Linked DNA regions of Homo sapiens: regions 1, 3 and 4 are each linked to region 2. The links are contacts of gene promoters, found by promoter capture Hi-C in blood cells and fetal thymus (Javierre and others, 2016). All regions are on one chromosome and are shown on one strand. The core of a region is centred on a gene start or on the middle of the fragment in contact, and the rest is flanking DNA. Distances in the headings are between cores, read along the strand shown.

Region 1 (6,991 bases), core at 3,576-6,075, 1.4 Mb after region 2:
GAGATCGTGCCACTGTACTCCAGCCTGGGCAACATAGTGAGACTCTGTCTCAAAAAAAAAAAAAAAAAAAAAAAACTAGGACCCCAGAGCTTTAGTTTCTCTTTTAAGAACCATTGTTACAAACATGTTACCTCCTTCAGAATACCTTTAGACTTTATCAATATCTATTATTGATAAATATTGATATTTACTCCCATTTGAGCTTATTCCCATTTTACAGATGGAAAAATAGAAGTTAAACATCTTGCATGTCAGCTTCCAAGCTGATCATAAGACAAGCATTAGGATAAAATTAGAGACAGACTGCTTAGACCCTCCTTTCACTGCCCTGTTATATTCAACATTTCTAAAGGAAGATCTATGCATCAGTTTTCACTGGCTTCAACTATTTAAATAGTTTCTGATATCCAAAAGAACATTCACGGTCTGGGGGAAAGCACTTCATGTAAATTCAAGAATTGCCCGTATCCTATTACCCAACCCATAAGTTTATTCAGACCCCAAAAGTGAAAAAGACACATACAATTACTTATGAAACAATTATTTCACACACCTACATCAATACTTAAATATTATTTTAAGTACTACATTTATCTTATCTCTAGAAATACAATACATAACTGAAAGCTCAAGGCCAACTATGCCAAGGGTGGCCAATAATAAAACTGGGCCTGATAAAAATTAAGGTCACAAATGTCTTTCTTTTCACCCCAACCCATTACATAACCAAGCCATTGATATTTAAATGCTTTTTAAAAACCTTTATAAAATTTGCATCTCCTCCCCCTCCAAGGGCCTGGTTTCATGCTTTTCATAGTGGAAATGCAAGTATTTCACAGATAACATTTTTCAACAATTAGGTTACAATGTAACTGCTTGTAAACTACCACCTTAACAGATACTTTCTAAGACATTCAAAATCTCTCAATTTAGACAACTTCTGCCTTTTTATATTTAAGATCAATAACAAGGTAATATAGCTGTCAGCTTTTCAAGTAATCAATTGCCATAAGGATTAGAATGACAAATTTCACCAAATCTCCCAATACTGAAATCTTTATATGCAAATAAATTAAGGCCAAGCGCAGTGGCTCACACCTGTAATCCCAGCACTTTGGGAGGCAGAGGCGGGCAGATCACCTGAGGTCAGGAGTTTGAGACCAGCCTGGCTGGCCAACATGGTGAAACCCCGTCTCTACTAAAAATACAAAAATTGGCCAGGTGTGGTGGCACTTGCCTGTAATCCCAGCTACTTGGGAGGCTGAGGCAGGAGAATCGCTTGAACCCAGGAGGCAAAGGTTGTAGTGAGCCAAGATGGTGCCATTGCACTCCAGCCTGGGCAACAGAGTGAGACTCCATCTCAAAAAAAATAAAAATAAAGAAAACAAATTAAAGTTCATCAGTCATGAAGCCTCCATTCCAGGCCCTAGCTCCAGGATGACAATTCTAGACACATCCTGGGCCAGAAGGGAATCTGCTGCCCTGAAGGGAAGGTCCCAGTCCTAGCAGCATACATCACCTGATAACTGAAGAGCCCTTGGGCCCTGAATAACCAGCAGAGAGCCAGGCGCGGTGGATCACACCTGTAATCCCAGCACTTTGGGAGGCCAAGGCAGGTAGATCACTTGAGTCCAGGAGTTCAGGACCAGCCTAGCCAATATGGTGAAACTCCCTCTCTACTAAAAATACAAAAATTAGCCAGGCGTGGTGGCACACACCTGTTAATCCCAGTTACTTGGGAGGCTGAGGCATGAGAATCACTTGAACCTGGGAGGCGGAGGCGGCAGTAAGCCAAGATCACGCCCCTTCACTCCAGCCTGGGCAACAAAGTGAGACTCTGTCTCAAAAAAATAAATTTAAAAATTAAAAAATAATCAGCAGTGACACCCAGGTACCCAAGTACTACATTGAGAGCTTGGTGATTATAAAAGACCTTATCTTTTATAATGCCAGAAGCAAGTCAATCTTATTTCAAACAACACAAACAACCAAAAAAATCCTTTAAAAACAACAAAACCTTTAAAGACTGAGCCACTGATTAGTCAGTGTATGTTTTAGCCAGGTCATCGGTTTATTTTCCTTCCTCTTGTCTTCTGGCCATTTTTCCACCACAGAATCCTAGAATATTACTTTTTTTTATAAACACAAGTAAAAATTAGAACTAGTCTTTGTTCCTGCTTTTTAAGTGCTTGACAAAATATTTGATAAAGAGAAAATCTGGAACTACTGTGTAAAATAATATTAACAATAATGCTTATATTATTTCTGCCTCACATTAGAAAAGACTCAAGAGGGATTTGGTACTGTGGGTTCAACTCAAGCATTACCTGTCAGATTCTCCTTTAACCATGATTATGGTTTAGGAGATCGATGACACTTCAGCCTGAGACAGTTCTGAACACCTACTTGGAGCTCTTTCATAGTAAATCATCAGGGAGTGTCACACTTTTTAATTAATTCCCTACATGCATATATGCAGTTCTTTACTAGAGGTTTTTCATGTAGCTTAAGACTCTCCTAGCATTAAATATTTCAGTTATCTCACTACATAGTACACCTGGACACAAAAAATGTAACATTATAAACAGCTACAAAATCATAGACCTGCAACAAATCAGAGTAGGTAATATGAACTTCTTTCATTGTAACACTTGGGCTAAATTTAAATGGTCATAATCAGGTTAGACCTGGCAGCTGAAGGGGGCATTAATGCCTTGTGGTTAAGAACATAAGCTGTGAAGTCAAGATGGGGTTCAATTCCAGCTCCACCAATTACAAGCTGTATAACTTCGGTCAAGTTCTTGATCTATGTCTCACTTTCCTCCTCATCGGTAAAATGGGCAAAACCAAGTACTTACCTCACAGGTTTGAGAATTCATCAAGATTATAAAGAACGACAATAAGCACTCAACTTAGTTATGATTATTACTCTTATCATCAAGATCTACAAAAATCCAAGACTAGTAAGAAAAACTGACCCTTGTGTAAAATTAATTATTCTATTCAGAAATTCTATATACGTAATTTGTTCATTCTAAAGAAACTGAGAAGATCCGACTTCAAACTATAGTTTCAAATGTAGACTTTGTGAAACTTAGTAAAATCTAGAGGTCATAATTTAACTGTAAGGTACACCATCCATGCATATGAACATGAGTGCCTGGTAATTACAGGCCAACAAGTTATACTGGGTACCACTTACGTGCCTAATACCCCACAGATAAAGATTTGTTGTATTTGAGCCTACTGACAAATTCAGAAACCAAGGCCACAATCGTGTACACAACTAGAGATCTACAATCTAAGAACTGAAGCATATCTTTCCCCAAGGTAAAGAAAATATAATCTACTGCTTGTTCATGCAGAAATACAGACATACGTATCATAGGCTCATTGCCCAATTCTACATTCTAGCTAAATTGCTCTAAAAACATATGCCAATCTAAGAGTTACTCAAAGGCACATTTCGCCAACTTGAAATGCAATTCTGACCCATGCTCCTTGTAATTTTATTTTGCCACTGGACGCCAAGGATGCATCTCCGAGTAAAAAAATTACTTAATTCACATTGTGGGATGAAAATTCAAATGTCAAACTGAAACGCCAGCCAGCCACCTGGGTAAAAGTGTATACATTTCATATTGACTACCCAAATTTTCAGACCCGTCAAGAGGCAAATCAGAAGCACACAGAAAAACAGCTTCAACCTAATAAACGTGCTTGATTGGTTAAGAGGAGGCCTGCCAGGCATTTTCCCTTGCAATAAATCTTACTTCGCATCAGCCCACGTTAACCTGCCCTTCATCCTTCATGGAATAAATAAGTAAATAAAGATAGGGCCTAATTACTCCTCGAAATTTGCCCAGAAAGTGGGGAAACACTTGAGGTCCCATTAAGGCTGGACATCACAAAAAGTAGTATACTAGGGTCCTCTGGAAGCAAAACCCTGTGTTAAGTCCCCCCTCGCCTAGAAATAAACCCAAGGATATCCTTCAGGATATGGAGTAGAAAAGATACCTAAATACCTGGAACTGCACCACAACCCAATCAAAAAAAGGCTTGTCTCCTGGGGCTGCAGAAAAAAAATCCCGCAGGGCCCGGGTGCTTCCCATCTCCAGCAACCTAAACGCCTCTAAGTCGTCCTGGGATCTCACATCCTCGCGCCCGCCCACCCCTCCCCCTCTTCTCACCCTCCCCCCGCTTCTTCCCCACGCAGTTTCTAGGCCCAAAGATTAGCAAAAATGACCGGGATACCAAAGACCGCCTCCGACTTCGAGGTCTCAATCCCACAGGCACCAAAGAATAAACAGAGGAGCCCGACCAAGCGTCACCGTTTAGGGGAGATTGCAAGAAGCGCCCCATACCCTAGGCCGCGCCCCCCCCACCTCCCCCCACCCCATCCCCACCCCCACCCCCGTCGGAGCCTTGCGCCGATACCCCGAAACCCTTCTCACCTAAAGAGAAAACGATGCCTCTTTCGGCTAAGCAACACACAGGCCTAACCCACCAAGCGAACGCCTTCCCAAACACCCGACTCAGACGGTGCCTGGGCCCAGACCGCTGGGGCCCATGAGACGGGGTTGCGTTTTACCTCATGGGCTCAGCGGTCATGTTTTCGCTTGAACGCCTTGTCGGCTTCTGTGATTGCTGGGCGCCGATCTGCGCTCCCCCGCGCCCGGTTACGATAGAAATGCACTGGAGTCTTAGTCGTCACTGTAGCTGCTGCTGGAACCTCCCCACAGCTCAAAGGCCGCTACCACTGCCACCGCCGCAGGAGCCGCGGAAACAAAGCGACACCGCTGCCGCCGCCATTTTGTTGGGCCGAGGCTCAGGCAGGAGAATTGGCGCGTCCTCCCTCTTTCTCTTTCCGTCAGCCATTGGCTACCTCCTCCAAAGCACAGAGTCTTATTGGCTACGGAAATTCACCTTCTTTGGGGGCCTGTTGCTAAGGCGGTCGACGTCATTTGATCCCCTCCACCTTTTCGCAGGGGGTCCAATTTAGTCCCAATTGACCTGAAAGTGCTAGTGACATAGTTTGACTTTATTTTGAAAATGCTCTTTTGGTCCAACCTCTTTTTTCTTTGACATATTAACGAAGTAATAACAGCAACCTACATTTATTGAGAGTTTACTATATGCTCGGCACTACACTAATCCTTTATCCGGGTTATCTCATTTAATCTTTACACTCTCTGAGGTAGACAAACCTACATTTTCCAGATGAGGAAACCAAGACACAAAGTCCCACAGTAGTGGAGCCGAGATTCACCAGACACTCTTAACCACTAATCTGTATGGCCATCCTATGTAAGTATTTTCTTTCCTATATGCTAGGCTATCATCAAGTTATTTGCTTTCCTAGATGTTTTATACATAATATTTGGCACACCAACATGCTTGGAAATGTATATGTGTATAATATACTTATATATATGTATATGTGTGCAGACGACATAAGACCAACTTGAACGCTGCATAAAATTCTTTCCATATTGAATAAAGTGTCTCTTAGAATACACACACACACACACACACACACACACACACACACACACACACGGGCCATTTCCCCAATTTGATGTGATGTTTAGCTCACAAACCAATCAATTTAGATCTGCTTCCTTCTCATTACAGAGGAAGCTTGGCTGGATGATCTGTAAATGCCTTTCCCGCTTTTATGATCTATAATTTGATTTTACATTGGTAATCTCTGCTAATCACAAACAAGTCCTCTAAAATCTAATCGCTTCGAAATTTATTTCCAAATTTATTCTGCCATGCATGCTTTAGTTCATTCTATTTATTTTTCTTGAAATATGCAAGAGCTCCTGTCGGGGTTAGGTGACAGGGTTGCTGCTTTCTACTGGGATAGCAAGAGGGGAGCCTTTTTTGAATGAAACACTTTGAAAATCTGATAGGCTCAGGCAACTTTTTTTTTTTTTTTTTCTGAGACAGGGTCTAGCTCTGTCACCCAGGCTGGAGTGCAGTGGCGTGACGCAGTTCACTGCAGCCTCGACCTCCTAGGCTCAAGCAATCCTCCCACCTCAGCCTCTCAAGCAGCTGGGACTGCAGGCGCGTGCCATCAAGCCCAGCTAATTATGTATTTATGTATTGGTATAGATGAGGTAGGTCTGTCTGTTGCCCAGGCTGGTCTCAAACATCTAAGCTCAAGCCATCCTCCAACCTCGACCTCCCAAAGTGCTGGAGTTACAGGGGTGAGCCACCGCGCCTGGCCTCAGGCAACTTTTTAATCAACAGACGCCTGTACACATTGCAATTATATCTTTCAAATGTTTGAGTTCAGTTGGCAATTATAGAAACCAGACCTCTGTACCTGCTATACTGATTTTGTCTTGTACACATTAAATATCATTTCAACATACAATTTACAGGAGTCATTTTTTTCTCCTTGGTAAATGCAGTGAATTTGAATGATGTACTCCATCACAAGGCAGCACAGAAATGTGCTTGCTGTTCAACTGACTTCACTATGAGAAAAATAGTAAATAGTCAACATGTTACCAGGTTATTGGCGTTTCGAACAAGGAATTGGACAAAATGCACAAAGCAAGGAAAGAATGAAGCAACAAAAGCAGAGACACGTTGAAAATGAAAGTACACTCCACAAGACTGCAGGAGCTGCCAGAGCACAGGGGCTCAAGACCCCCATTACAGAATTTTCTGGGATTTAAATACTCTCTAGAGGTTTTCCATTGGTTACTTGGTGTACACCCTATGTAAATAAAGTAGTGGCCCGCAATCAGAGGCTAAAGTGAAGTTACAAGGGTCACACCCTATGCAAGCATCTAATTGGTTGTGGACAGCAACCAATCAGAGGCTAAAGTGAAGTTACAAAGTTACACTGCTATACAAACATCTGCTTTCTGCAACCAATCAGAGATACTTTCAGTTTTCCATCTGCCAAGCGGAAAAGGAAGAGGATTTGCAAAGGGAGTAGTCTTTTTGTTACTTAGGTGTGGAAAGTTGGGGT
Region 2 (7,709 bases), core at 857-3,356:
CATAATTTCTTCAAATACTCTTTAGTTATTTAACATTCATTTAGTTTTCAGCTCTGTTATACTAGAACAAATTATATAATAAAAGTTATTTTAGCTAAATATTTGCACATATATCTTATTATTTCTTTAGAATATATTTCTAGAGGTAAAAATTTTTAGTTTATAGGTTTGAACAACTTCAGGGTCTTTAAAAATCACTGTACCCTAGGTTAGGAATATCTGTTGCTAAAGCTTAGAAATATCTTAGGTTTTTTTGTGCCTCCCATTCTGAATAGGCCCCAGGCATAAAAACTGCATTGGACTTCACAGAACCGAAACTGGTTATTCATATAAGGGATTGCTTCTCCAATTGGAGACAGAGATGGTGACACATTGTGACTGTAGCCAGTTATTTTCCCTTTCCTAAAGACGTATTAAAAAAAAGTATTGGAACCAACCCAAATGCCCATCAATGACAGACTGGATAAAGAAAACATGGCACATATACACCATGGAATACTATGCAATAAAAAAGGATGAGTTCATGTCCTTTGCAGGGGCATGGATGAAGCTGGAAACCATCATTCTCAGAAAATTAACACAAGAACAGGAAACCAAACACCACACGTTCTCACTCATAAGTGGGAATTGAACAATTACAACACATGGACACAGGGAGGGGAACATCACACACCAGGGCCTGTCAAGAGGTGGGGAGATAGGGGAGGGATAGCATTAGGAGAAATACCTAATGTAGATGATGGGTTGATGGGTGCAGCAAACCACCATGGCACGTGTATACCTAGGTAACAAATCTGCACATTCTGCACATGTACCCCAAAACTTAAAGTATAAAAAAAAAGAAAAAAAGACAAAAGTATACTCCCAGATTTTTGAGAAGATATAAAGAAAGACAACATATAATAAATGTTTGCAGCAAGATATAAACATATCAATAAAGGGTCAATAGTGGTAAGCTGAATTGTAGTGGTTGTGTGAGTGTCAGAAAGTTAGTGTTTTCCCTCTATCTCTCTTCCTCTCTCTCTCTCCCCTACTTCTAAAAACAGCCTGCCCGTCCTCTTCAGTGTTTTCTTTCTTACTCACTGCTGCCGTGCTACTCTCAGTTGGAATGATTTTCTCATCCTTGTCCTTTTGGTAAATATCTACCCACTCATCTTTTTAAACATCTCCTCTTTTATGAAGCCTTTTCTGCATCTACAGGTAGAACTGACCCTGCCATCCCCTGCATTCTTTACAAACTTCTAGAAAATTTAGCTTTACTTTTTCTCTGACTCCCATTTTTACATCGGGTGCTCCTTGATGACAAAGAGATTAACTGTAACTTCGGGATAGATGACCAGTGTTTGTTGAGTGAATGAATAAAGGGATCAGGGTTGGATCTGCTCAAAAGTGCTAGAGTAATAGAGCAAAACAGAGCAGGTAACACATCCCTTAACACTCGGTATCTCAACTGACTTTCACAAAAGCTCTATTAAATGAGCAGGTGATTGTGGAGTGAAAGAATTAAACAAATTTTCAAGAGTTTTAGTGGCTTTCCCACTAAAGCCTGGGTGACTGGGAAAGTTTGGGCTGGGAATGTTGGGCTTTTCAAGCGTGTTCGAAGCTCCCTAATTGGTACTAAATTTCAGGCATTCAGACCCTCTAGGAAAGAGTTCTTTCTAGCTCACAACATTAGGGGAGGAGTTAGACACATAAATGGAGAAAGTGATAGAAGAGACATGGTCAGGGATGGGGGTTCTACCCTTCCAGAGACAATGCACATTTTCTTTGAAACAGCTTCGGGAAAACTGCAAATCTCAATGATATTTACCAATTTTGAGAATCTATTAAGTGCCTGGCACTCTGTGTAGAAGCCCTCCAATCGTACCCTAAATCTGAGAAGTATTTATTATTATTTCCATTTTTACTCCCTAATGCATCTACTCTAAGCTCCTTGCTTCACCCTACCAAAGTTTCCCTTCTGCTAGTGCTCTCCTTTGGTGCAGAACCACCGCATCCACTTTCTCAGGCCCAGGGGAGGGGCGGGGCGGGGCGATTTCGCCTTGCCGCAGAGCCAGTCTGCGCCTGCGCGGACTGCGGCAGAGGGCGGGGTGTGAGAAGCAGAGTACAGTGAGACTAGCATTCACTGCTGGCCAGTGCCTGCCTTTTTCACCACCTCTAATTTCAGCTTCAGCAGTTGCTTGGAACTTTGGTTCTGGCAGCAGCAGCAACATCATTACCGCTAGCGGCAGTTTTGTGCCGAGGCACCTACACACCTCCCGTCCTCTCTGCCAGATCGCGGGCCTGTCGGTGTCTGCTCCTACACGCCAACGCCGGTGGGCAGGACCATGTCTCTGGTAAGCCAGAATTCGCGCCGCCGCCGCCGCCGCGTTGCAAAGGCTACTGCGCACAACAGCAGCTGGGGCGAAATGCAGGCCCCTAATGCCCCCGGTCTCCCCGCTGATGTGCCAGGCTCAGACGTCCCCCAGGGTCCCAGCGATTCCCAGATCCTCCAGGGCCTCTGCGCCTCTGAGGGCCCAAGCACCTCCGTTCTGCCCACCTCCGCTGAGGGCCCAAGCACCTTTGTGCCGCCCACCATCTCTGAGGCCTCAAGCGCCTCCGGGCAGCCCACCATCTCTGAGGGACCTGGCACCTCCGTGCTGCCCACCCCCAGTGAGGGCCTAAGCACCTCCGGGCCTCCCACCATCTCTAAGGGGCTGTGCACCTCTGTGACGCTTGCCGCCTCTGAGGGCCGGAACACCTCCAGGCCGCCCACTTCCTCTGAGGAACCTAGCACCTCCGTGCCGCCCACCGCCTCTGAGGTACCGAGCACCTCCCTGCCGCCCACCCCTGGTGAGGGAACGAGCACCTCCGTGCCGCCCACAGCCTATGAGGGACCAAGCACCTCCGTGGTGCCCACCCCTGATGAGGGACCAAGCACCTCCGTGCTGCCTACACCTGGTGAGGGACCAGGCACCTCCGTGCCGCTCGCCGCCACTGAGGGCCTGAGCACCTCCGTGCAGGCCACTCCTGATGAGGGACCGAGCACCTCCGTGCCGCCCACCGCCACTGAGGGCCTAAGCACCCCCGTGCCACCCACCCGTGATGAGGGACCGAGCACCTCCGTGCCGGCCACTCCTGGTGAGGGACCGAGCACCTCCGTGCTGCCCGCCGCCTCTGACGGACAAAGCATCTCCTTGGTGCCCACCCGCGGTAAGGGATCAAGCACCTCCGTGCCCCCCACCGCCACCGAGGGCCTGAGCACCTCCGTGCAGCCCACTGCTGGTGAGGGATCGAGCACCTCCGTGCCGCCCACCCCTGGTGGGGGACTGAGCACCTCCGTGCCGCCCACCGCCACTGAGGAGTTGAGCACCTCCGTGCCGCCCACTCCCGGTGAGGGACCAAGCACTTCCGTACTGCCAATCCCCGGTGAGGGACTGAGCACCTCTGTGCCGCCCACCGCCTCTGATGGATCGGACACCTCCGTGCCGCCCACTCCTGGTGAGGGCGCAAGCACCTTAGTGCAGCCCACCGCCCCTGACGGACCGGGAAGCTCCGTGCTGCCTAACCCTGGTGAGGGCCCGAGCACATTGTTTAGCTCTAGTGCTTCTGTGGACCGGAACCCCTCCAAGTGTTCCCTTGTTTTGCCAAGCCCTAGGGTAACCAAGGCCTCCGTGGACTCAGATTCTGAGGGTCCTAAGGGTGCAGAAGGCCCTATAGAATTCGAGGTCCTGAGAGACTGTGAGAGCCCCAACTCCATTAGTATTATGGGCCTCAATACTTCCCGGGTTGCAATTACCCTGAAGCCCCAAGACCCTATGGAACAGAACGTAGCTGAGCTGTTGCAGTTCCTGCTGGTGAAGGATCAGAGCAAGTACCCTATCCGGGAGTCTGAAATGCGGGAATATATTGTTAAAGAATATCGCAACCAGTTTCCTGAGATACTCAGGCGAGCAGCAGCCCACCTGGAGTGCATTTTTAGGTTTGAATTGAGAGAACTTGACCCTGAGGCACACACCTACATTCTGTTAAACAAACTGGGACCTGTGCCCTTTGAAGGGTTAGAAGAGAGCCCAAATGGGCCAAAGATGGGCCTCCTGATGATGATTCTAGGCCAAATATTCCTGAATGGCAACCAAGCCAAGGAGGCTGAGATTTGGGAAATGCTCTGGAGGATGGGGGTGCAGCGGGAAAGGAGGCTTTCCATTTTTGGGAACCCAAAGAGACTTCTGTCTGTGGAGTTTGTATGGCAGCGTTACTTAGACTACAGGCCAGTAACTGACTGTAAACCAGTGGAGTATGAGTTTTTCTGGGGCCCAAGATCCCACCTAGAAACCACCAAGATGAAAATTCTGAAGTTCATGGCGAAAATATATAACAAAGATCCTATGGATTGGCCAGAGAAATACAACGAAGCTCTGGAAGAAGATGCTGCCAGAGCCTTTGCTGAGGGTTGGCAGGCTCTCCCTCACTTTAGGAGGCCCTTTTTTGAGGAAGCTGCTGCAGAGGTACCATCCCCTGATTCAGAGGTTTCCAGCTATTCCTCAAAATATGCCCCACATTCATGGCCTGAGTCAAGATTGGAGAGCAAGGCAAGGAAGCTGGTGCAGTTATTTCTGCTTATGGATTCAACTAAGCTGCCTATACCAAAGAAAGGAATTCTGTACTACATTGGCCGAGAGTGCAGCAAAGTGTTCCCTGACCTCCTGAATCGTGCTGCCCGCACCCTGAACCATGTCTATGGGACAGAACTAGTGGTACTTGATCCCAGGAATCACTCCTATACTCTGTACAACCGAAGGGAGATGGAAGAAACTGAGGAGATCGTAGACAGTCCAAACAGGCCTGGCAACAACTTTTTGATGCAGGTCCTAAGCTTCATCTTTATTATGGGCAACCATGCCAGGGAGTCTGCAGTCTGGGCCTTTCTGCGGGGCTTAGGGGTTCAAGCTGGGAGAAAGCATGTGATTACCTGCAGATACTTGAGTCAGCGCTATATAGACAGTTTACGGGTTCCTGACAGTGATCCAGTGCAATATGAGTTTGTATGGGGTCCTAGAGCCCGTTTGGAAACCTCTAAGATGAAAGCCTTGCGATATGTGGCCAGAATCCACAGAAAGGAACCACAGGACTGGCCACAGCAGTACAGGGAGGCAATGGAAGATGAGGCCAATAGAGCTGATGTTGGGCACAGGCAAATCTTTGTTCACAACTTCAGGTAGAGGAATGCATGGCAGTCAGAGGGGCCTTGCAAGGAGGGGCCTTTGAGCCTCAGTTCTCATGTATTGGGGGGTGGGGGTGGGTACATATTGTATTTGGTATTTGTGTTCCAGTTATATTTATGTCTTTTCATATTTAGTTCTGGTGTGGTGTCTGGAAATGTTTCAACTGTTTTAATATATTGTCTGATTGGGTAAATGTGATTGACCACTTGCTGTCTCTGTTGTATTTTGGTATGAGTTTTGATAGCTCTATAAAATGTTTTGGAAATCTTTCCATCTTGTTGCATTATCTAGAAAAGAATATAGCATATAGCTATAGATATAGGCTTTTCCTTGAAAGCTTGAAAAAAATTCGCCAGTAAAATAATCTAGCTTAAAGTGATAAACTAACAAACAAATATAACAACAACTGAAAAGGCACTCTAAATTGTGGCTGGCTTCCCTTTCTGTCTGCTATTGTATGAAGAATACTGATGTTTACCTGTATTTGCTTTGCTGTACTAAAATGTAATGAAAAATAAAAGATTAATAAATGAAACATAATGCTAATACACTGACTTATTCAACTGCTTTCATACAGTGAGCACAGTGGTGTGCCCTAGTTATAGAAGTATAAAAGTTTACAAGATATAGTACCTGCCCAAGAATTCAGAGGCTGGATAGGGTACAGGGGGAGGTCATTTAAATCACCAATTTATTATGGTGTACTATGTGCTACAATAGAAAAATAGAGAGTGCTATGGTAGTTAAAAAGAGGCACAACTGACCAATTCCTGGGGTGTTCAGGGTGGTCCTTAAGGAAGCTGTTGGGTATGTGGGGTGGGGACAAGATGGGGTCTTTTTTTTTTTTTTTTTTTTTGAGACAGAGTCTCGCTCTGTTGCCCAGGCTAGAGTGCAGTGGCATGATCTCGGCTCACTGCAACCTCTGCCTCCTGGGTTCAAGAAATTCTCCTGCCTCAGCCTCCAGAGTAGCTGGGACTACAGGCAAGTGCCATCACACCCAGCTAATTTTTGTATTTTTAGTAGAGACGGGGTTTCACTATTTTGGCCAGGCTGGTCTCAAACTCCTGACCTCGTGATCTGTCCACCTCAGCCTCCCAAAGTGCTGAGATTACAGGCGTGAGCCACCGTGCCCAGCCAAGATGGGGTCCCTAATACAATCATGAATTAAACTGATTCAAGGCTGGATTTCAGTCTTTATGTGTGCTGGTAGGAAAAAAAGTCAAAGATGTAAGGCCAGAGAGCAGGATATATTGTGTCATCAATGGTTTCAATAAGATACATGAGCCAGCTTTCTCTAAGTTATGCTGTGGGTTTTTAAAAAATACCCAAATCTCAGAGGCTTACAACAACAAAATTTTGGGCTCATTTTACATCCCTTTCATGGGCTGTCTGTGATTCTGTTTATATTGTCTTCCTTCAGGTAACCAGGCTAAAGGAGTAAATCATATATGGGACACCTGTTCTTGTGGCAGAAGTAAAAGAGCCATAGTGGAACCATGTGATAGTTTTCAAAGCCTATGCTCATATATGGCATATTGTAGTCATAATCCATTGGCAAAAGCAAGTCACATGGGCAAGCTTGATGTCAATGAGCTGGGAAGTGTACTCCTTCTACAGGGAAGAACATATAGGAATGGGCCCAGTAGAGAGGAAGAACATATATTTTTGAATAAAAAATTAGTCTACCATATAAGAATTTGGCTTTAGTTGTGAGTGAGATGGAAAACTATTTAAGGCTTTTGATCTGAGCGATGGCAGGAAACCACTTAGTTTTGACAGGATTCTTTTGGCTCTCATATTGAAAAACTAAAGGGGGTGGGGAGGGCAGAAACTCTAATTTTAGCATAGTAATTTCTTCTTAATGTACCTATGAAAAGAGGTGTTATTTTCTGAACAAAATCAAATTTAAAGAAATTGAAGTCAGAAAGCCTGTTATCTTTTAAAAAACACCTTGGAAATCAAACTCCGTGGTATCAAGGTTAAAAGGCATTAGAACATAGTAGTAAGAGCATGTAGTCTAGAGTCAAAGTGCCTGGGTACAAACCCTGGCTCTCTCTGATACTAGAGATGAGAACTCAGGCAAGTTACTTAACTCCTTTGTGCCTCCATTTTTTCATCTGTAAAATGGGCATAATAATTTCACCTACGCCATAATGTTGGGGATTAAATGTGTTAACATGTAAAACACAAGAGCACTTGACATGTAGTTAGCAATATATAAGTGATATTGTTGCATGTTGATTTTTTCCAGGAATGAGACTGTGAGTGATTTCCTTGCAGAAATTTTACTGGGGAGTTGTTTTGGGTTCAACAGGTGTGGGGAGCAAGAGAAGCAGAATTGTGTAGAAAGAGAAGTCGAGCAGTGATTCAGTCACAGCAAATAAATTAACTGATTCCACAGGGAGCTCTGGAGTTGGTGTGGTCCTGCAGAGTTGTCCCAAATTAGGAAAAAGAGGCCAAAGTTTTATCCCACCATACTCACCAGTCGTTGGATGCAAACTGCCT
Region 3 (7,123 bases), core at 4,075-6,574, 1.2 Mb before region 2:
TTAAGGATCTAGAACCAGAAATACCATTTGACCCAGCAATTCCATTACTGGGTATATACCCAAAGGATTATAAATCATTCTACTATAAAGACACAGGCACACATGTGTTTATTGTATCACTATTCACAATAGCAAAGACTTGGAACCAACCCAAGTGCCCATCAATTTTAGACTGGATAAAGAAAATGTGGCACATAGATACCATGGATTACCATGCAGCTATAAAAACAGGATGAGTTCATGTCTTTTGCAGGGACATGGATGAAGCTGGGAACCATCATTCTCAGCAAACTAACACAAGAACAGAAAACCAAACACCTCATATTCTCACTCATAAGTGTGAGTTGAACAATGAGAACACATAGATACACGGAGGGGAACATCACATGCTGTGGTCTTTCAGGGTTGGGATGCTAGGGGAGGGATAGCATTAGGAAAACTACGTAATGTAGGCGATGGGTTGATGGGTGCAGAAAACCTCCATGGCACATGTATACCTATGTAACAAATCTGGACGTTTTGCACAAATACCCCAGAACTTAAAGTATAATAAGGAAAAAATAAACACTTTATGTGAAAAAAAAATCCTTAGGAATATATCTAAACAAGAAGGTGAAAGACCTCTACAAGGAAAATTCAAAACACTTCTGAAAGTAATCATAGACGACACAAACAAATGGAAACATAACCCATGTCATGGACGAGTAGAATCAATATTGTGAACAGGATCATAATGCCAAAAGCAATCTACACATTCAATGCAATTCTCATCAAAATACTAATATCATTCTTCACAGAATTAGAAAAAACAATTCTAAAATTCATATTGAAGCAAAATAGCCCATATAGCCAAAAAGAATAAATCTGGAGGCATCATATTACCTGGTTTCAAACTATGCTATAAGGCAATAGTTACGAATACAGCATGGTACTGGTATTAAAATATACCCACAGACCAATGGAACAAAACACAAAATCAGAAATAAATCCAAATACAGCCAACTGATCTTCGACAAAGCAAACAAAAATATAAAGTGGGGAGAGGACACCCTTTTCAACTAATGGTGCTGGAATAATTGGCTAACCACATGTAGGAGAATGAAACTGGATCCTCATCTCTCACCTCATACAAAAATCAACTCAAGATGGATTAAGGACTGAAATCTAAGACCTGAAACTATAAAAATTCTAGAAGATAACTTTGGAAAAACCCTTATAGACATTGGCTTAGCCAAAGATTTCATGACCAGGAACACAAAAGCAAATGCAATAAAAACAAAGATAAATAGCTGGGACTTAATTAAACTAAAGAGCTTTTGCACAGCAAAAGGAACAGTCAGCAGAGTAAACAGACAACCCATACAGTGGGAGAAAATCTTCACAATCTATACATCTGACAAAGGACTAATATCCAGGATGTACGAGGAACTCAAATCAGAAAGACAAAAACAAACAATCCCATCAAAAAGTGGGCTAAGGACATGAATAGACAATTCTCAAAAGAAGATATACAAATGGCCAAGAAATGTATTAAAAAATGCTCAACATCACTAATTATCAGAGAGATGCAAATTAAAACCACAATTTAATACCACCTTACTCTTGCAAGAATGGCCATAATCAAAGAAATTAAAAAATAGTAGATGTTGGCATGGATGTGGCAAACAGGGAACACTGCTACACTGCTGGTAGGAATGTCAACTAATGGAAACAGTGTGGAGATTCCTTAAAGAACTAAAAGTAGAACTACCATTTCATCCAGCAATCCCATTACTGGGTATCTACCCAGAGGAAAAGAAGTCATTATACAGAAAAGATAGTTGCACACGCATGTTTATAGCAGCATAATTCGCAATTGCAAAAACGTGGAACCAACCCAAATGTCCATCAATCAATGAGTGGATAAAGAAGCTGTGAGATATATATATATATACACATATATATGTGTATATATATGTGTATATATACATATATATGTATATATATATATACACATATATATATGTGTATATATATATATGTATATATATATGGAATACTACTCAGCCATAAAAAGGAATGAATTAATGGCTTTTGCAGCGACCTGGATGAGATTGGAGACTAATATTCTAAGTGAAGTAACTCAGGAATGGAAAACCAAACATTGTATGTTCTCACTCATAAGTGGGAGCTTAGCTATGATGGATACAAAGGCATATGAATGATACAATGAACTTTGGGGTCTTGGAGGAAAAGGGTGGGAAGGGCTTGAGAGATAAAAGACTACAAATAGGGTACAGTGTATACTGCTCGAGTGATGGATGCACCAAAATCTCTCAAATCACCACTAAAGAACTTACTCATCTAACCAAACAGCACCTGTTCCCCAATAACCTATGGAAATAAAAAAAAAATTATAAAAAAATCTGTATAGGCATGTTAAAAAAAGGAAGGACAGAAATACCATTCAACTCAGCAATCCCATTACTGGGTATATACCCAAAGGAACATAAATTATTGTTTTATTAAAGACACATGCACACATATGTTAACTCCAGCACTATTTACAATAACAAAGACATGGAATCAACCTAACTACCCATTAATGATAGAATGGATAAAGAAAATGTGGTACATATACACCATGGAATACTATGCAACCATAAAAAATAATGAGATCATGTCCTTTGCAGGGACATGGATGGAGCTGGAGCCTATTATCCTTAGCAAACTAACACAAGAACAGAAAACCAAATGCTGCATGTTCTCACTTATAAGTGGGAGCTAAATGATGAGAACACATGGACACATAGTGGGGAACAACACACACTGGAGCCTACTGCAGAGTGCATGGTGTGAGAAGGGAGAGGATCAGGAAAGACAACTAGTGGGTACTAGGCTTAATACCTGGGCGATGAAATAATCTTTACAACAAGCCCCCATGACAGAAGTTAACCTATGTAACAAACCTGCACATATATCCCTGAACTTAAAAGTTAAAAAAAAAAAAAGATTCTTGTATCCCATCTCGGATCTACAGAATCACAATCTCAAAAATGAGCCGTAAGAACCTGCATTTTAACAAGCTCTACAATTATTGTGGTACATACTGATGTTTGAAAAGTACTGCCCTAGACACTCTTACCTCAGGCCGTTATAGTGAGTCCATACACTTAAAAATAAGCGTCTTTCCAAGTACTTTAAAGATTCAAAATGATAGTGGATCTGAAATGCCGCCTGAGTCCCCATGACAACGTGTACACTGTGGGGCCCAACCAATAAAGATAAGAAAAGCTTTGGCGGTCAAGCATACTTGGGAAGCTGCAGTTTCTAGAACAGTCTAGTAGAGGACAGCCTCTTCAGCAGCCTGCTAGGCATTTTTTTACTTCTTCCTTCTGTTATGCAGACAAGCTAACTGAAGATGCGGTTACTGAGATATAATTTCTCTGCTAGGTCACAAAGTCTGAAAACATGGGCCTTACGTGTGTAACTGTGTATCATCACCTGCCACCCCCAGTTTTTCCTGGCTCTACTAATCACCCAAAGTTCTGAATGCAGAAGCCCCAGGGGCCCCCGGAAGATCCTTCAAGCTGGCATCCTTGGCCTCGCTGCGGGGGCTTAGCTACCTGTGGGAACCCACGTAGCAAGGGTGACTCAAAGGGTTAACAAGCAGTGGCGCCGCAGAGTGGCGGGGAGTGCAGCCAATAGGGTGTCTAGGCAGGCAGTACGTCTGGTGTGGGCGGGAGTGAGCCAAAGTGTGCTAAAGGAAACCAACAGCGGCCTAGGGGTGAAAGGACAGCCAGGGTTAGATGTTCTGAGGAGGCGGGAGCAACCGAGAGAGCACGTGAGCATCTGTCCTTTCTACCCGTTCCTCTTTATCTTTAGTGTTCAGTAGCAGCGGGGATAGCCCGGGGCCCGGTGTATGGCCACGGAGTTACAGTGTCCGGACTCCATGCCCTGTCACAACCAGCAAGTAAACTCTGCCTCAACCCCAAGTCCCGAGCAGCTGCGACCTGGCGATCTGATCCTGGACCACGCAGGGGGAAACAGAGCCTCCAGGGCCAAGGTGATTCTCCTCACGGGGTACGCCCATTCTAGCCTGCCGGCCGAGCTGGACTCTGGGGCCTGCGGCGGCTCCAGCCTCAACTCAGAGGGCAACAGTGGTAGTGGTGACAGTAGCAGCTATGACGCACCAGCTGGCAACTCCTTCCTAGAGGACTGCGAACTCTCCCGGCAGATCGGGGCGCAGCTTAAGCTGCTGCCTATGAATGATCAGATACGGGAGCTACAGACCATCATCCGTGACAAGTAAGCCAAGAGCGGAAGGGGAAAGGGAAGTGGAGGGTCTTGCAGGCTGTGGGCGGGGATTGGAAGTAAAAGGGCTAAGAGACAGTGTTCTTGGCCTTGGCAAACTTTGGAGATTGGGGTAAGACCTTTTATTTGGTGTGTGTGTGTGTGTGTGTGTGTGTGTGTGTGTGTGTGTGTCGTGTAACTCGAACGCCAACCTTCTCTTTCCAAGTTCCGGTGTCTAACATCACTTTGGGTGGGGAGGAAGACTTTAGGTAGCCTCTGGGCTCTTTGTCTCTCCCAGGAAAGACAACTCCTTGGCCATTCCAGGCAGGTAAACTCCCCTATACTATGTGGGCAGTGCTTGTCCACATGGTAAACCTATAACCCAGAAATGGTTACTATCCAAGGTTATGCACTACCACCAATCACCTCAGGTTCATAAATAGAAATAAAGCAATTTCAAGGAAATTCTATTCAGGCCCTGACCCTTTAGTATTTGCTACTGCAAACAAGGTCTTTTAGTCTTGGAGTTCAGGTTTACTTGATCACATGAAAGCTTATCGTCCAACTCTTATCATTTTTCACTGTAAACTCACAGAACATAGTTAATGGATCAAAGGGAGCCTAAAGGAGCCTTTGGCCCTTCCTAATCCCACAAACCAATGTAGCCAGAACTTCATGTTAAAATGTAATTTTGAAATTTCTAAACCTACGTTGTAAATGGGTTTTCTCCAGGGAAATATGTACCATGATGAACTACAGCTATTTTCTTTATTGGCAGCACTTTAAATGAGCAGCATATCAAAACACCCCTTTTTTAGTGGCAGGGGTTGGGGGGACATGCCTTGATCTTTTAAAAATGGCTACTGAATGACAGATGCCACTCCCTAAACCAGACTCTAGAAACCTTGTCTTACACTATTGTAATAATACTGTTTCTCTGCTTGCAGTTTTTCCTCTCTTCCACATGCACCCATACATTACTGTACAATCAATCTTCATAACATACATCTTTGATTCAGTAATTGCCCTACTCAGCAACCTTCTTTGGCTTCTCAGAGCCTACCAAATAAAGTCCAGGATCCTTAGCTTGATTGATATTTTTGAGACAGGATCTTTCTCTGTCACCCAGGCTGGAGTGCAGTGGTGAGATCACAGCTTACTGTACCCTCATACTTCTGGGCTCAAGTAATCCTCCTGCCTTAGCCTCCTGAGTAGCTGGGACTACAGGGACATGGCACTGCCCCCCGGCTAATTTTTTATTTTTTTGTAGAGATGGAGGTCTTGCTATATTGTCCACGATGGTCTTGAACTCCTGGCCTCAAGCAATCCTCGTGCCTCGGCCTCCTAAAATGTTGGGATTACAGGTGTGAGCCACCATGCCTGGCCCCCTTAGCTTGGGATGAAGGCCCTTCTTCATAGTTCCTAGGAACAATTCTGAAACATATCTGTTTCTGCTCTCATCTGGAATTCCCTGTGTCTCCTTTATGTACGTTCAGGATACTTATTCTTCAGGGTGAAACACAGCATTAAATAATTGTCCACCTCTGCCAAGAAGCTTCCCTTTAATCATTATTCCTGGCTTATCTTCCCTGGTCTTTTTAATGCAAGATTCACCTTCTTTTTCGTATATTGTTATTTTTGTATAGATCTTATCCTGCCTATGACATCTTGAAGGCAGAAATCTTTTACATTTTTGAATGCCGGCCATGCCTTGCAAATAATAGATGCTCAATTACTAGAGTTTTTTTGTAGCTCTTAAAATTATATTTATGAAACTATACTATTTTACTCTTTTTAATGAATCAATATTGAAAACTACTGTGGTTATGTTATCTAATAGACAAAATAGTGATCCTAAAAAATAGGAGGCATAGGTTTGCTGTAGTTGTGGTAGGGTAGGGGCAGCCAAAATAAATCTTACATATACAACAAAGAAAAATAGATGATGATTCTTGTTTCTATAGAGCAGAAGTTACTACGCTTGGGTCTTCGACTCCCTCGTACCAGTAGATGGGTTCAGGGCTTTAACAAACCCTCATAAATTAACTGGGAAATTTTACTCATATGAAGATTTTTAATAGTTGTTTTTAAATAACATCTTTATTGAGATATAATTCACAGACCATACAGTTCAAGAATTTAAAGTGTATAATTCAGTGGTTTTAAGTATGTTCACAGCTGTGCATTCATCACCACAGTTTTAGAACATTTGTCATCACCCCAGCAAGAAACCTCATGCCCATTAAACAGTCACTCCCCATTTTCACCCAACCCACCCAAAGCCCTAGACAATCATTAATCTACTTTCTATTTCTAATGGTTTGCCCATTCTGCACATTACATATAAAAAATGTCTATTCTGGACATTTCATTATCATACAATATGTGGTCATTTTGTGACTCATTTCATTTAGCATGTTTTCAAGGTTCATCCGTGTGGGATCTTTCCTTTTTATGATTAAATGATACTCCATTATATGAATATACCACAATTTGTTTATCCATCAGTTGGTGAACATTTGGGTGGTTTACCACTCTTTGGCTATTATGAATAATGCTGCTATGAACATTCACATATGTGCCTTTTTTTTTAGAGGGTGAGGATTCCTTAGTTTTTTAGATTTCACAAAGTGTCATGATAATGTAAAGGTGAAGTGCCCTTGCTATAGCGCTTGGAGAGGGAATGGCATTTAGCATTCACATATGACAAAATAATACCTGATTATATGTCATTAGTCAGAAAAACCTGGGTTATGTAGTAAACCTGGGTGTAAGTGGAATCCTTTTTTTTTTTTCCTCTAAGTTTGGAAGGAGACAGCAGGATCCAGAGAAGTGATTTAGGCAATATGTT
Region 4 (6,651 bases), core at 1,484-3,983, 1.5 Mb after region 2:
TTTTGCTCTGTCATCCAGGCTGGAGTTCAGTGGTGTGATTTTGGCTCACTGCAACCTCCGCCTCCTGGGTTCAAGGGATTCTGCCTCGGCCTCCCAAGTAGCTGGAATTACAGGCGCCCACCATCACACCTGGTTAATTTTTATATTTTTAGTAGAGACAGGGTTTTGTCATGTTGGCCAGGCTGGTCTCGAACTCCTGACCTCAGGCGATCCACCTGCCTCGGCCTCCCAAAGTGCTGGGATTACAGTCGTGAGCCACGGTGCCCAACCTCATAAATCTCATTCTTAATTTCACTCTAGGACAGAATTATTGTAGCACCTGTGTTCTGTTATTTTAGATTCATTTTAACTTACCTAGACACGGGTACTGTGGTAGTTGTAGAGGTACAGATGTTGAGTTCCCATCCTCCTGGCTTAATGTCACTGGGGTTATTAATACACTTCATAAGCATTTTAGGGACACCTGCTGTCTGCTCAACCCCCAGCAAACCTGATTATTTCTTGAAGACATTCCCTTCTATGCTTGTGCATTGGTAAGGAGGATTAGGGATGATGCATTTAAAGACAAGAGTTTTAGGCTGGGCCTGGTGGCTCATATCTGTAATCCCAGCACTTTGGGCAGCTGAGGTGGGAGGATCATTTGAGGCCAAGAGTTCGAGACCAGCCTGGGCAACAAAGGGAGACTCCCATCTCCACACACAAAAAAATAAAAACTAGCCAGGTGTGGTGGTGTGTGCCCATAGTTCCAACTACTTGGGAGGCTGAGGTGCAAGGATCGCTTTAGCCCCGGAGTTTAAGGTTACAAGGACCTATGATCACACTTCTGCACTCCAGCCTGGGTGACAGCAAGACTCTCAAAACCAAACAACAACAAAATATATATATAGCTCTCTAGGTTTTTATGTTAAATATTAGAGTGCCTAAGAATGTACATGGTTGGCAGAGGATCTTGCAGCTCATAGTGATAAACTTTAGTATTTACATAAAAATACTAGATAGCTAGTAGATTCAATGTTCTGCTTCTGAAAAAGATATATTTTTGGTTTTGCCTTTTAGTGAATTTCTTTTGGATGCTTAACACAATGTTAATATAGTTACAAACCAACTTGCTAATATTTGGAAACCCACTTAAAAGCTATCTTCATTTCATATGATGTGATTTTTAAGATTTTAAATTTGGGGCTGAGTTTGTATCTTAATAATTAAGGCTGCACACATTGACAACTACAAAATAATGCCTGGGAAGATGAGTCCTGAGGCTAATTTTATATTTATGTGGATGAGTGTGGAGGGGGATAATAATTCTGAAATACTTAATCACAGACCTAAAATGTAGATCTATGGGTAATTTTAAATGTTGCCTGTCAAGGCTTAATAGGGACTTGACAACAGCTAGGATGGAAATTATTTCAACACTTAAATATGCTTACTTTGTGCCGGACGCTGTTCTAAGTCTTTTACAAATATTTACTTGATATTTGTATTTTGTGTACTATTTTGATTTCTGCAACATTATTAGGCTTCATACTCTTCTGTGGGAACTGGGTTCAAATGGTTCCAGATGAAAATACAAATAGTCCTGTGATTAGTTTTGTTCTACATCTTATGACAGATACTTCATGAAAGGAAATATGAAAAGGCCACATCTTGCTTTGAAATAAGTGAGATGGAGCCTCTCCCTCTTTTTACTGTTAATGTTCATAGTTTTAAAAATCCTAGAATTTTGCTGCTTTTCAAAATGTTAAGTTGGAAAGCAAGAATAAAATGACCCTTTTTTCAAATGTTTTCTGTACCATTTATTGCATTGTTTACATTTTATGCATCTCATTTCTAAATGAACTCATGGTAACAGAGACTGTAACACTTTTGCATCACCGGAATCTTCTAGGTGTGTAAAATGATGGACGAGTGAATGAATAAATGGGGGAGTGGTTCAGAGCTTGGAATGGCGCTATGAAGGTGGTGAAGTGACGTCCCTACCCCCTCAACACACATATAAAAATTATGAATTTATAAACATTTTCCTCTTGATGTAATTTTTCAATGGAGGGAAGAGGATAAATTCATAGTTCTGGCACTTACATCTGGAATTAGGCTACACAGTCTACGGGAAGCAAGTTAACACAGTCTAACAGATGCACGTGAATTTCATGCTGGGCGAAGATGAACTATGTGGAAGATGACTTATAAGGAGCTTTTATGTTACATCTTGGCAGTTAACACAGTCTAACTGATGCACGTGAATTTCATGCTGGGCGAAGATGAACTATGTGGAAGATGACTTATAAGGAGCTTTTATGTTACATCTTGGCAGTTAACACAGTCTAACAGATGCACGTGAATTTCATGCTAGGCAAAGATGAACTATGTGGAAGATGACTTATAAGGATCTTTTATGTTACATCTTGGCCTGAGGTTAGGAAACTAAAGATGACAAAGGCACTGTTTTAGTATGGGTTTTCTGGTTTCGCTTTTGTCGTGGGGGCGGGGTGGGATAGTGGACTCGTACCCTAACAAAGACCCACTCGAGGCTGCGTGTCGGCCCGGGGGCAGCAGGGGGCAGGAGAAGCTGGCTCTAGACCACGCGTTCCTTTTCACGTGACCAGTCGCTCTCTTTCCCGTGGCGGCCCTGCTTCCGGCAGGGGCATCACCCGGAAGTGGGGGTAGTCGAGGGAGGGAGGGGTAAAGGCGGCTGGCCGCCGCGGCGGGGGGTGGGAAAAGAGAAGCAGAGGGAGGAGTTGTTGCTGCCGCCGCCGCAGCCGCAGCTACTGTGACTTCTCCGATTGTGTGAGCTTTGTTGGAGCCTGCGTACGTGGATTTATCGCTGCCACGGTCTGCGTAGCTCCAGAGGTTTAACCATAGGATAGAGAAACCAGGTAAGTCCTACATTGGCTTCCCGTCGTCCTTTCTCCTGGAGGGGGTCTTCTGTGCTGTCAGTTTGTACTACGAGTGTGGTGAGAAGGTCATGTTAGTCTGGGGCAGTCTCGAAAGTTTCACTTATTCACAATTCAGGTATTAACTACATTTATGTTTTACCTCCCCTAACAGGGGATAGAGGAGGGGAAATTAAATCCTGACCTGTGTCACTTTCTTGTACCCTCTTGGAGAGAATGTCCTGATCATCCATGGCCTACGTTACCCAATTAATTGAGGGTACAAGAAAGTTTGTGTTTGGCATTGAAAGTCACATGGACTGGGGTCTTTGCTTAGTGACACCTCTTTATACTTTGGAAGCTAAGGTTACTAAAATGACCATAATTGATGAAATAATAATTGAAAAATAGATATTTGGCTTCTTGTCTTGCTCTGGGAGCGTAAGGTAAACTGAGAGAACTCTTGTTTCCACTTAGTTTTGTTCATTGTGCCCCCTTTCCAGTAAAGTTACTGTCCATTGTCCGACCCTGTGGCATCTTATCTTTGACACTTTTCTTCGTTGTAGACGTTGAGATTATCTTAAGCACAAACACTTATCGTTTCACAATTCAGCGTTTGTCCAGGATCTGATCTTTATTTTAATCACAGACTCTTTATCTACAATAGTATGGCTTTGTATTGAGAATATGTGCAGAACATTGAATTAGATGATACTGAGGTTATTAATTTTTTTTTTTTTTTGCCGGGTGCGGGGGGGTGGTGGGGAGGGGGTGATGCACAAGAAATAAGACAGAGTTCCTGGCCTCAAAAGAGTTTACTTACAGTAGGCTGGGCGCAGTGTCTGACACACCTGTAATACCAACACTTTGGGAGGCCGAGGAGGGTGGATCACCTGAGGTCAGGAGATCGAGACCAGCCTGGCCATCATGGCGAAACCCTGTCTTTACTAAAAATACAAAAATTAGCTGGGCGTGGTGGCGGGCGCCTGTAATCCCAGCTAGTCGGGAGACTGAGGCAAGAGGATCGCTTGAACCTGGGAGGCGGATGTTGCAGTGAGCCGAGATCGTGCCACTGCACTCCAGCCTGGGCTACAAGAGCGAAACTGTCTCCAAAAAAGAAGAAAGAAAAATAAACAGTTTACATACAATTGAGTCCGAATTGAGTCAGTTGAATTCAGCTATGAAGACAACGGTTTCTAGCAGCCCCACTGACTGAATTACTAGGTTGCTTATCACATCCTTTTCAATGGTTATTTTTGAACTGGCATTTTATTATATTTAACATTTTCTGGTGTCTAAGGTCATGACATGAGAGAGTTTTTTTTGTACTTGAGGATCTCAATGTAGTAGGAAAGAAAGATACACGATTACCTAAACATTTAAAAAATCTCACTAACGTTATATATTAGAAACAGGAGGTGTTATGAGAGTGCAGGGAAGGGAGCATGTGAACTGGGCTTTGAAAAATAGATAGGATTTAGCTTTGCAGGAATGGAGGAAGAGGAAGACATCTATCTGGACTGATAGATAGAAGAAATAATGTGAGCAAAGCCATGGGGGTCTGGAAAGTTGCCCGACATCCAGTAACACACTGTAAGTCAATATTCCTATTTCTAACAGCCACATCTTCCAAGATGTCACTGATTAAAATTAGAAAAAATATAGAATACAAAACTAGTCAGCTCACAAACATATCCAACTGCCCTCCAGCCAATAAGAAAGCTTATATAGAGAAAAAAATACATGGAAATGACAAAAGCAATGTTAATGTATGAGGCTTAATTCTGATGTAAACTCAAATCTAAAAGAGAAAAAATGTAAAACTCGCTATACTTTAATTCTGATTGAGTGTTGTGCCTTAAATATAATTTGGAATCATTTTTAAAATTGTTGGGAATGAATAACATTTTCTGAAGTGAGCAACTGTTCCAGGTTTTCCCCAAGGAATCTCTGCTTTTCCTTTTTTCCTCTAAATTGATTTCTCTCTATTGATCTTCTTAACTTGATAGGAACTATTCTATTCCGATCACAGCCTTAGAAAGATCTTGATGCCTGCCCTCAAGATAAGGTTAAACACTAATCCCTCCAAAGGATAGGTTAACATCTCTGTTCTCTAAAGCAGAAGGTTGATTTTCTTTGAAAAATGCTTGCAGAAGCAGTAAAATTTGCTTACAAAACAAGAGAGAGAGAGAAAAGAGTGCAAAAATAACCCCAGCTAACACACCACAACCTTCACTTCTGTGAGGGCGCTAAAGGAAATACATTTTAAAAAAATAAATTCCTTGTTATAACTCCTTTTATCTATATATTTAAAAGCTCTTGGCAAACTTTATTAATCAAGACTTTGGACATCCTGATGAGTGAAAATAATCTTCATTTGCCAGTTGGGAAAGTAAATTGCAAGGAGAGATTTTTGTCTGAACTCATAGAAGCACTAGCATAGATGAGAATAGTATTTGGGAGTTTTGTCTCAAAATTCCTTCTATTCATCTTTGTTAAAGGGCAGTTCAGGTTTTAGCGTTTTGTTTTTAGACAACGATATTTCTTAGGATATAGCTCAACATGGGGCCGGGGCAAGGGGGAGGCTGGGGGACAGATGAGTGATAGGCAATGGTTAGGCAGAGTATTTTAGTTCACTCTACCATCCCAGCAATCATGTTTTTCCCTCTTAAATCTCAGTCTTCAGGTTGATTTAATGTGATATTACTTGCTTACTTAACTTGCTGAGATAGTTTGGCAGGAAAAATATCAAAATTCCTTTAGAATGTGTTTCATTAAAGTAAAAGGGTCCTGTGTTTCTGATTTTATAAAATGTTCTTACTTTTTCCAGCACTGTTTGCAAATTGAAGTGATTTCCTAATCTTTTTGTGCCCAAATGTATGAGATATTGGTAGACTACATCAGTTTTCACAGATACCTCTTTCCTTGAAGGAAATGAGGGTAAAATACCCCATTTTGAGTCAGTTATGTGTACTTTGTACCATATTTTCTGTTCACATTTAAAATTATACAGCTATGTCTCAAGGATGAAAAAAGAGTTTTACTTATTTTTACTATTAATCTCTAGTGTAGAAGTCCAGTTTTTCAGACCTATAATCAGGAGTGCATTTTTAACAATTTACCAGTTGAAATAAATGGGTTATTTCACATTGTAGGGATATTGTTTTAGACTGGCCATTAACCTTATTTTATTTTATTTTTATTTTAAAAGATGTTATTGTTATTATTTATCTATGTATTTATTTCTAGAGGCAGGGCCTCGCTCTGTGGCCCAGGCTAGGGTGCCATGGCACAATCATAGCTCACTGCAGCCTTAATCTCCTGGGCTCAAATGATCCTCTGGCCTCTCAAGTAGCTGGAACCACAGGCGCATGCCACCATGCCTAGCTACTTATTTATTAATTAATTATTATTTTTTAAATAATATTATTTTTAAGAGATGGGGTCTTGCTCTGTCACCCAGGCTGGAGTGCAGTGGCGCCATCATAACTCACTGCAGTCTCGATCTCCCAGGCTCAAGCGATCCTCCTACCTCAGCCTCCTGAGTAGCTGGGACTATAGGTGTGTGCCACCACTCCCAGCTAATTTTTAAACTTTTTGTAGAGACAGCATCGTGCTGTGCAGTGGTGCTATCTCGGCTCACTGCAACCTCCGCCTCCTGGGTTCTAGTGATTCTCTTGCTTCAGTCTCCCAAGTAGCGGGGATTACAGGTGCGCGCCACCACACTTGGTTAGTTTTTGTATTTTTGGTAGAGAAGGGGTTTTGCCATGTTGGTCAG

Evidence for each region. The method cuts DNA at HindIII sites, captures the fragments that hold promoters and counts their contacts. A CHiCAGO score of 5 or more calls a contact.
Region 1: the fragment with the promoter of ATRX here is called in contact with the fragment with the promoter of MAGEE1 in region 2 in 1 of 17 cell types (total B cells); the score reaches 5.8 in total B cells.
Region 3: a fragment that was not itself captured here is called in contact with the fragment with the promoter of MAGEE1 in region 2 in 3 of 17 cell types (total CD8 T cells, non-activated CD4 T cells and total CD4 T cells); the score reaches 8.0 in total CD8 T cells.
Region 4: the fragment with the promoter of ATP7A here is called in contact with the fragment with the promoter of MAGEE1 in region 2 in 4 of 17 cell types (naive CD8 T cells, total CD4 T cells, fetal thymus and 1 more); the score reaches 9.9 in naive CD8 T cells.

The regions. Positions count from the first base shown.
Region 1 is chrX:77,781,391-77,788,381 of GRCh38, forward strand. ATRX (ATRX chromatin remodeler) reads right to left here and starts at 4,826. Exons shown (of 35, transcript NM_000489.6): 1 at 4,592-4,826. The coding sequence starts at 4,611. RefSeq lists a silencer at 4,440-4,489 and enhancers at 4,590-4,699, 4,710-4,899. The HindIII fragment of the contact is 7,766 bases long and covers 1-5,638 here.
Region 2 is chrX:76,425,604-76,433,312 of GRCh38, forward strand. MAGEE1 (MAGE family member E1) reads left to right here and starts at 2,107. Exons shown (of 1, transcript NM_020932.3): 1 at 2,107-5,739. The coding sequence starts at 2,328. The coding sequence ends at 5,201. RefSeq lists enhancers at 2,155-2,364, 2,835-2,964. The HindIII fragment of the contact is 4,624 bases long and covers 230-4,853 here.
Region 3 is chrX:75,270,354-75,277,476 of GRCh38, forward strand. UPRT (uracil phosphoribosyltransferase homolog) reads left to right here and starts at 3,732. Exons shown (of 7, transcript NM_145052.4): 1 at 3,732-4,287. The coding sequence starts at 3,902. It overlaps LOC124905200 (a long non-coding RNA gene), which reads right to left and starts at 3,683. Exons shown (of 4, transcript XR_007068269.1): 1 at 3,125-3,683. RefSeq lists enhancers at 3,623-3,672, 3,693-3,742, 3,903-4,112. The HindIII fragment of the contact is 1,002 bases long and covers 4,824-5,825 here.
Region 4 is chrX:77,907,960-77,914,610 of GRCh38, forward strand. It overlaps ATP7A (ATPase copper transporting alpha), which reads left to right and starts at 2,734. Exons shown (of 23, transcript NM_000052.7): 1 at 2,734-2,876. The HindIII fragment of the contact is 7,135 bases long and covers 1-4,593 here.